Regions from separate parts of the Homo sapiens genome. Here region 1 is linked to region 2. The links are contacts of gene promoters, found by promoter capture Hi-C in blood cells and fetal thymus (Javierre and others, 2016). All regions are on one chromosome and are shown on one strand. The core of a region is centred on a gene start or on the middle of the fragment in contact, and the rest is flanking DNA. Distances in the headings are between cores, read along the strand shown. Region 1 overlaps P2RX4 (purinergic receptor P2X 4). Region 2 holds the start of OASL (2'-5'-oligoadenylate synthetase like).

The links. Contacts are between HindIII fragments. The CHiCAGO score rates a contact against its expected background, and 5 or more counts as called.
Region 1: a contact is called between a fragment that was not itself captured here and the fragment with the promoter of OASL in region 2, in 3 of 17 cell types (M2 macrophages, erythroblasts and megakaryocytes). The highest score is 5.6, in M2 macrophages.

The regions. Positions count from the first base shown.
Region 1 is chr12:121,233,040-121,236,309 of GRCh38, forward strand. P2RX4 (purinergic receptor P2X 4) reads left to right here. Exons shown (of 12, transcript NM_002560.3): 11 at 1-53; 12 at 484-1,067. The coding sequence ends at 510. Among named protein-coding and RNA genes, the nearest start is that of P2RX4, 25 kb to the left of the region's middle. RefSeq lists an enhancer at 703-1,330. The HindIII fragment of the contact is 6,150 bases long and covers 1-3,270 here.
Region 2 is chr12:121,037,324-121,040,846 of GRCh38, forward strand. OASL (2'-5'-oligoadenylate synthetase like) reads right to left here and starts at 1,923. Exons shown (of 6, transcript NM_003733.4): 1 at 1,451-1,923. The coding sequence starts at 1,648. RefSeq lists enhancers at 1,087-1,588, 1,589-2,088, 1,668-2,087. The HindIII fragment of the contact is 5,031 bases long and covers 1-3,523 here.

The sequences.
Region 1 (3,270 bases), core at 370-2,869, 200 kb after region 2:
AAAGACTCTACTATCGGGAGAAGAAATATAAATATGTGGAAGATTACGAGCAGGTAGGCCCCTCCTGGCCCCCAGCAGGCACAGGCCTCTCATCTCTTGGGTGTGGGAGCCCTGGGCGTGGGCCTGTCTGGGGAGGCCCTTCTGCAGAGGCTGGCACCAGTGTGGCGTGGTGTCCCCGTTAACCCGGGCAGTCCTGCCACTCTCAGCAGCTGCTCCATCCCTAGGCCCCTGTACTAGATTGACTCTTTAAACCCAGCCTCGTTTCAATGAGCGACATCTCAGGTTGGTGATGATAATGCATGCTCTGAGAATGCCTGTGGGCACACACTACTTCAGTGCACCTTGCGGAACAGGAAGGGTTGGGTTCCAGGCCTGGGACCAACTTGAGAACCCCTGGCGGTGAAGTCCCAGGAGCGCACCTCCCTCCCGCCTGCCACAAGGGGTCCCAGGGGCACCTTGATCTGCTTGTGTCCTTCTTTGCAGGGTCTTGCTAGTGAGCTGGACCAGTGAGGCCTACCCCACACCTGGGCTCTCCACAGCCCCATCAAAGAACAGAGAGGAGGAGGAGGGAGAAATGGCCACCACATCACCCCAGAGAAATTTCTGGAATCTGATTGAGTCTCCACTCCACAAGCACTCAGGGTTCCCCAGCAGCTCCTGTGTGTTGTGTGCAGGATCTGTTTGCCCACTCGGCCCAGGAGGTCAGCAGTCTGTTCTTGGCTGGGTCAACTCTGCTTTTCCCGCAACCTGGGGTTGTCGGGGGAGCGCTGGCCCGACGCAGTGGCACTGCTGTGGCTTTCAGGGCTGGAGCTGGCTTTGCTCAGAAGCCTCCTGTCTCCAGCTCTCTCCAGGACAGGCCCAGTCCTCTGAGGCACGGCGGCTCTGTTCAAGCACTTTATGCGGCAGGGGAGGCCGCCTGGCTGCAGTCACTAGACTTGTAGCAGGCCTGGGCTGCAGGCTTCCCCCCGACCATTCCCTGCAGCCATGCGGCAGAGCTGGCATTTCTCCTCAGAGAAGCGCTGTGCTAAGGTGATCGAGGACCAGACATTAAAGCGTGATTTTCTTAATCCCTGTCTGTTGTCTCATAGCATGTGCTAGAACTTTCCTTCCTACCCTTTTACGACAACCAGTAAATCCACTATTCCGGCTCACTGTGCTCAGAAAAGGTCCATGGGATGGTCTGTTTCTGGCACTTATGCACATTTTCCCCTACTTCTTTATTTATTTATTTTATTTTTGAGGCAGAGTCTCACTCTGTCGCCCAGGCTGGAGCGCAGTGGTGCAATCTCGGCTCATTGCAACCTCTGCCTCCCGGGTTCAAGCGATTCTCCTGCCTCAGCCTCCCGAGTAGCTGGGATTACAGGTGCATGCCACCATGCCCGGCTAATTTTTGTATTTTTAGTAGAGACAGGGTTTCACCACATTGGCCAGCCAGGCTGGTCTCGAACTCCTGACCTCAAATGATCCATCTGCCTTAGCCTCTCAAAGTGATTGGATTACAGGTGTGCGCCACCACACCTGGCCTATTTATTTTTTTTATTACCCAGGCTGGAGTGCAGTGGCGCAATCACTGCTCACTGCAGTCTCCACCTCCTGGGCTTAAGCGATCCTCCTACCTCAGCCTCCCATAGTGCTGGGATTACAAGCATGAGCCACTGCACCCAGCTGCCTACTTTTTAAAGCCTAATAATTTGTCATTAGCTTGTCTTCCTGCACAGTTCACAGGACACTTTTTCTCTAGTGACATCTTACCTGTGCCTCCATTTTGACATAAAATTACAATTCTATGCTGTGGGTAACACAATTTTTGGTAACATGGAAGTGGCTTCCTCTCCCTTCCCTGTTTGCTTCCCAAAAGTCTCCAACCAAAAGCAGCAGCACGCATACCTAGCTCCGCACAGGTTCGAAATGTTCATGAAGCTATTTCCAGCTGCAGCTTCACACCAACTAAATGTTTGTGTTTTTTTGTTTTTGAGACAGAGTCTTGCCCTATTGCCCAGGCTGGAGTGCAGTGGCATGATCTCGGCTCACTGCAACCTCTGCCTCCTGGGTTCAAGCAATTCTCCTGCCTCAGCCTCCCAAGTAGCTGGGATTACAGGCATCTGCCACCACACCCAGCTAATTTTTGTATTTTTAGTAGAGACAGAGGTTCACCATGTTGGCCAGGCTGGTCTGGAACTCCTGACCTCATGATCCACCGCCTCAGCCTCCCAAAGTGCTGGGATTACAGGCGTGAGCCACTGCACCCAGCCACACACCAGCTGAATTCTGCATCAGGTATTCAGAATCCCCCTAGAGGAAGCAGTTTGCCCTTCGCCTCTGCCATGAATTCACTTCCAAGTACTGAGAGGAACCATTATTTTACAAATACTCTGCTTCTGCTGGATAAATGGCCAACCTGGGCTTTTCTTGCTTTTGGAAAAAAAAAAAAAAGTTTACCAACTCCCTTTATTGAAGCTCTGGTTCATGCTGCCTTTTAAAAAAAAATGCTTGTTGCCTGTAATCCCAGGACTTTGGGAGGCCAAGGTGGATCACTTAAGCGTAGGCATTCAAGACCAGCCCAGTCAACATGGTGAGACCCTATCTCTACAAAAAATTAAATTAGCCGGGTGTGGCGGTATATATCTGTAGTCCCAGCTACTTGGGTGGCTGAGGCCGGAGGATCACTTGAGCCCAGGAGGTTGAGGCTGCAGTGAGCTATGATGGTGCCACTGTACTCCAGCCTGGGCACCAAAGTGAGACCCTGTCTGAAAAAATAAAAAGTGCTTGCTTAGGCACATGGGTCAAATGAAGCTGGAATGTTTAGGAATGGTGATATGGGCTGAATGTGTCTACCAAAATTCACATTTTGGAAACTTCATCCCCAAGGCAACCTTATTGGGAGGTGAAGCCTTGGGGAGGTGACTGAGTCAGGATTGCGCTGCCCTCATGAATGGGGTTGGTGCCCTATACGAGGGCTAGAGAGGGAGCTCATCCCCCGTCTGCCTTGCCACTGTCTGCCACGCGAGGACAAGTGTTCCTCCCTCCAAAGGATGCGGCACCAAGGCACCCTCTTGGAAGCAGAGAGCAGCCCTCACCAGATACCAAACCTGCCAGCACCTTGATCTTGAACTTCCTGGCCTCCAGAAATGTGAGAAATCAATTATTGTTCTTTATAAATTACCCAGTCTTAGGTCCCTGTAACAGCAGCACAAAACAGACTTAAGGGCAATGGGTGTGTTTATGATCTTGCTCGTCAAGGAGTGATGGTCACTGGCTGTCTTCCGAAGT
Region 2 (3,523 bases), core at 673-3,172:
GATCTTAGCTAGCACAGGCGGTGGCATGAAACAGCTGGAGGAAGGGCTTGGGGGAAAATCTCAGTGAGGGGGGCTTGGGTCCCTTGAGTCAAGTTCAAATCCCAGCTTCAACACTGTGTGACCTTGGGCAAGTCACCTCACCTCTCTGAGCCTCCATTAAAAAATCATTTTAGGCCGAGTGCAGTGGCTCACTGTAATCCCAGCACTTTGGGAGGCCGAGGAGGGCAGATCATGAGGTCAGGAGATCGAGACCATCCTAGCCAACACGGTGAAACCCTGTCTCTACTAAAATACAAAAAATTAGCCGGGCGTGGTGGTGGGCGCTGTCGTCCCAGCTACTTGGGAGGCTGAGGCAGGGGAATTGCTTGAACCTGGGAGGCAGAGGTTGCAGTGAGCTGAGATCGTGCCACTGCACTCCAGCCTGGTGACAGAGCAAGACTCTGTCTCAAAAAAAAAAAAACAAAAACAAAAATCATTTTATTGGCCGGCCAGACATGGTGGCTCACACCTGTAATCCCAGCACTTTGGGAGGCCAAGGTGGGCATATTCTTGATCCCAGGAGTTCGAGACCAGCATGGGCAACATTGGTGAAACCCTATCTCTACAAAAAATACAAAAATTAGCTGAGCATGGTGGTGCATGCCTGTAATCCCAAGCTATTTAGGAGGCTGAGGATCACCTGAGCTCAGGGAGATTGAGGCTACAGTGAGTGGTGATTGTGCCACTGCACTCCAGCCTGGGTGACAGAGCGAGACCCTGTCTCTAAAAAAAAAAAAAGTCATTTTATTATCAAAAAGTTAAAACACATAGAAAAATAGATGATACAACTAACACTCATATACCCAACTAGTTGATTCAACAAGTCTAAATTCCTGGCTACATGTGCTTAATCTAAGCCACGTTAAAGTAAATTATAGGCACCAAGGAACTTTGTCCCTAAAATACTTCAGTGTTCGTGTCCAAACAAAAGACAACCTTCTGATAACCACAAAACTACTGTTACACCTAACAAAATCAACAATGATTTCCCATATCAGATATATGTACTATCTGATATCTAGGCCAGTTGTCCCCAAACTATATTTTACAGATGGTTCATTCACACTAGGATCCAACCAAGGACCTCGCATTGTATTGGTTCTGAGCCTCCATTTGCTAATCTGTAAACTGGGCAAAGAATAGTACCTATCTCACAGAGTGCAAGAATTAGAGATAGTGTATGTTAAGAGGTTAGTCCAGTGAGCCCCCAAATGTGAGCTATTATTACTAGACTCATTCTACTCAAGGCAGTGGTGCAGTGGGGTGTAGACAGCTAGGTGGGATGGGGTATTCTGAGATGTCATCAGCATGGGCTAGGGATAAGGAGGACAGGGGTCCCCAGCATCCCCAGGGACGTGGACTCTGATACTGGGTTTTGTCTTGCGTGGGGGCTGGAGGAGCCCAGTCTTACCTTGACTACCTTCAGCACCCGCACATCCTGGTCCAGCCCACGCTTCCCCTGGAAATGCTCCTGCCTCAGAAACTCCTCCACGGTCCGCACAGCGTCTAGCACCTCTTCCTTCCACTCCCGGTGGGGCTGCAGCCACTGAGCCACGAAGGAGTCCAGCCTGGAGGCTGGTGTGCTATACAGTTCCTGCATCAGTGCCATCTCTGTCCCGAGAGTACCGCTGCTGGGCAGATATATAGCCAGGCTCCTACCCAGCTCCCTGGCACACACCTCCTTTTTTAAGGTAGCTCCTCCTCAGCTGCCCTCCAGTGCTCTGTGGGAGGAGGGACCCTAGCAGAGAGGAAACCAGGTGTGACGGGCTGACTCCAGGTCCCCCTTCTTGGAGACACCCTTGCTGCAGTAGGGGCACAGGAGGACTCTGGGCTGAGGCTGGAATATCTGGGGCCACCTTAACAGGCTGGCCGTCTAGTCAATCTGTCATCAGTTTCGATTCTCAACTTTTAGAGTTCTCCTTTATGACGTTGGGAAACTGAAGTTGGATAGTGTTTGACCCCAAAGGAGGCAACTTGCCCAGTAGGTTGGGGTTGGATAGTTGTTAGTCAATTCAACTGCTTACATCTGTCTAAGGAAATTGAGGCTTGGGAACGGAAGGGACTCACTAGTGTTCAGGTGGTGGAGTGAGAATCTGGAGCCCAAGAGAACAGACTGGGAATTCTAGTCTACCTGTGCCAGACTCTAACCTCTTTGACCCTCACTATTCATAGAGTGGGTTTTTTTGTTTTTTTGTTTTTTTTTTTTTTTGGCCGGGTCTTGCTCTGTTGCCCAGGCTGGAGTGCAGTGGTGCAATCTCAGCTCACTACAACCTCTGCCTCACGGGTTCAAGCGATTCTCCTGCCTCAGCCTCCCTAGTAGCTGGGACTACAGACATGTGCCACCACGCCCGGCTAATTTTTTTTTTGTATTTTTAGTAGAGACGGGGGTCTCACCATTTTGGTCAGGCTGGTCTCAAACTCCTGACCTCAAATGATCCGCCCACCTCGGCCTCCCACAGTGCTAGGATTACAGCGTGAGCCACCGCGCCCGGCCCATAGAGTGGGTTTAACAGGTATTATGATTCACGCACTGAACCAAGAAGTTCATGCATTGAGCCAAGAAGACAAAATAAGATGAGGTTCCTGTTCCAAGGGGACTCCCAGAACGGTGGAGGAGACACAGAAAAAAGAGACTGCAAAAGTCCAGTGCGATGAGTTAAGTAGGAAAAAAGCATGAAAACATGAAGCCGGCAGATGAGTTTCATTTGGTGTTAGCAGACACCTGCTTGAGAGGAATCTTAAAGACTGGGGATCCGGGCTGGGCATGGTGGCTCATGCTTGTAGTCCCAGCACTTTGGGAGGCCAAGGTGAGAGGATCACTTGAGGCCAGGAGTTCAAGACCAGCCTGGGCAACATAGCTGGACACCTGCAACTTCCCAAACTCTGAATAATATTAAGTGCTCCAGGGCTTAGTCCTGGGTCCTTTTCTCTTCTTGTTCTAGACTTACTCCCTTGGTGATTTCAGCCAGCGTTTAAATGTTTTTACTCTGGCAACTTCCACATTTTAATTTTATTTTTATTTATTTGTTTATTTTTGAGATGGAGTCTCACTGTCTCGCCCAGGCTGGAGTTCAGTGACACAATCTCGGCTCACTGCAACCTCTGCCTCCCAGGTTCAGGCGATTCTTGTGCCTCAGCCTCCCAAGGAGCTGGGATTACAGGAGCCCGCCACCGCGCCTGGCTAACTTTTTGTATTTTTAGTAGGGACAGTGTTTCACCATGTTGCCCAGGCTGGTCTTGAACTCCTGATCTGCCCTCCTCGGCCTCCCAAAGTGCTGGGATTACAGGCGTGAGCCACCATACCCAGTGACTCCCACATTTGTATCTTAAATCCATACCTCTTCCCTGAAATCCAGACTCATGTATCCAACTCCCCACTCCACATTGGCTTTGAATTCCGGTCTGCCCTTTGCCACACTTGTAACTTCTCTGCTTCTGTGGTGAGGATGATTGCAAGGGCAAGAACAGATGTAGGGAGATGGTC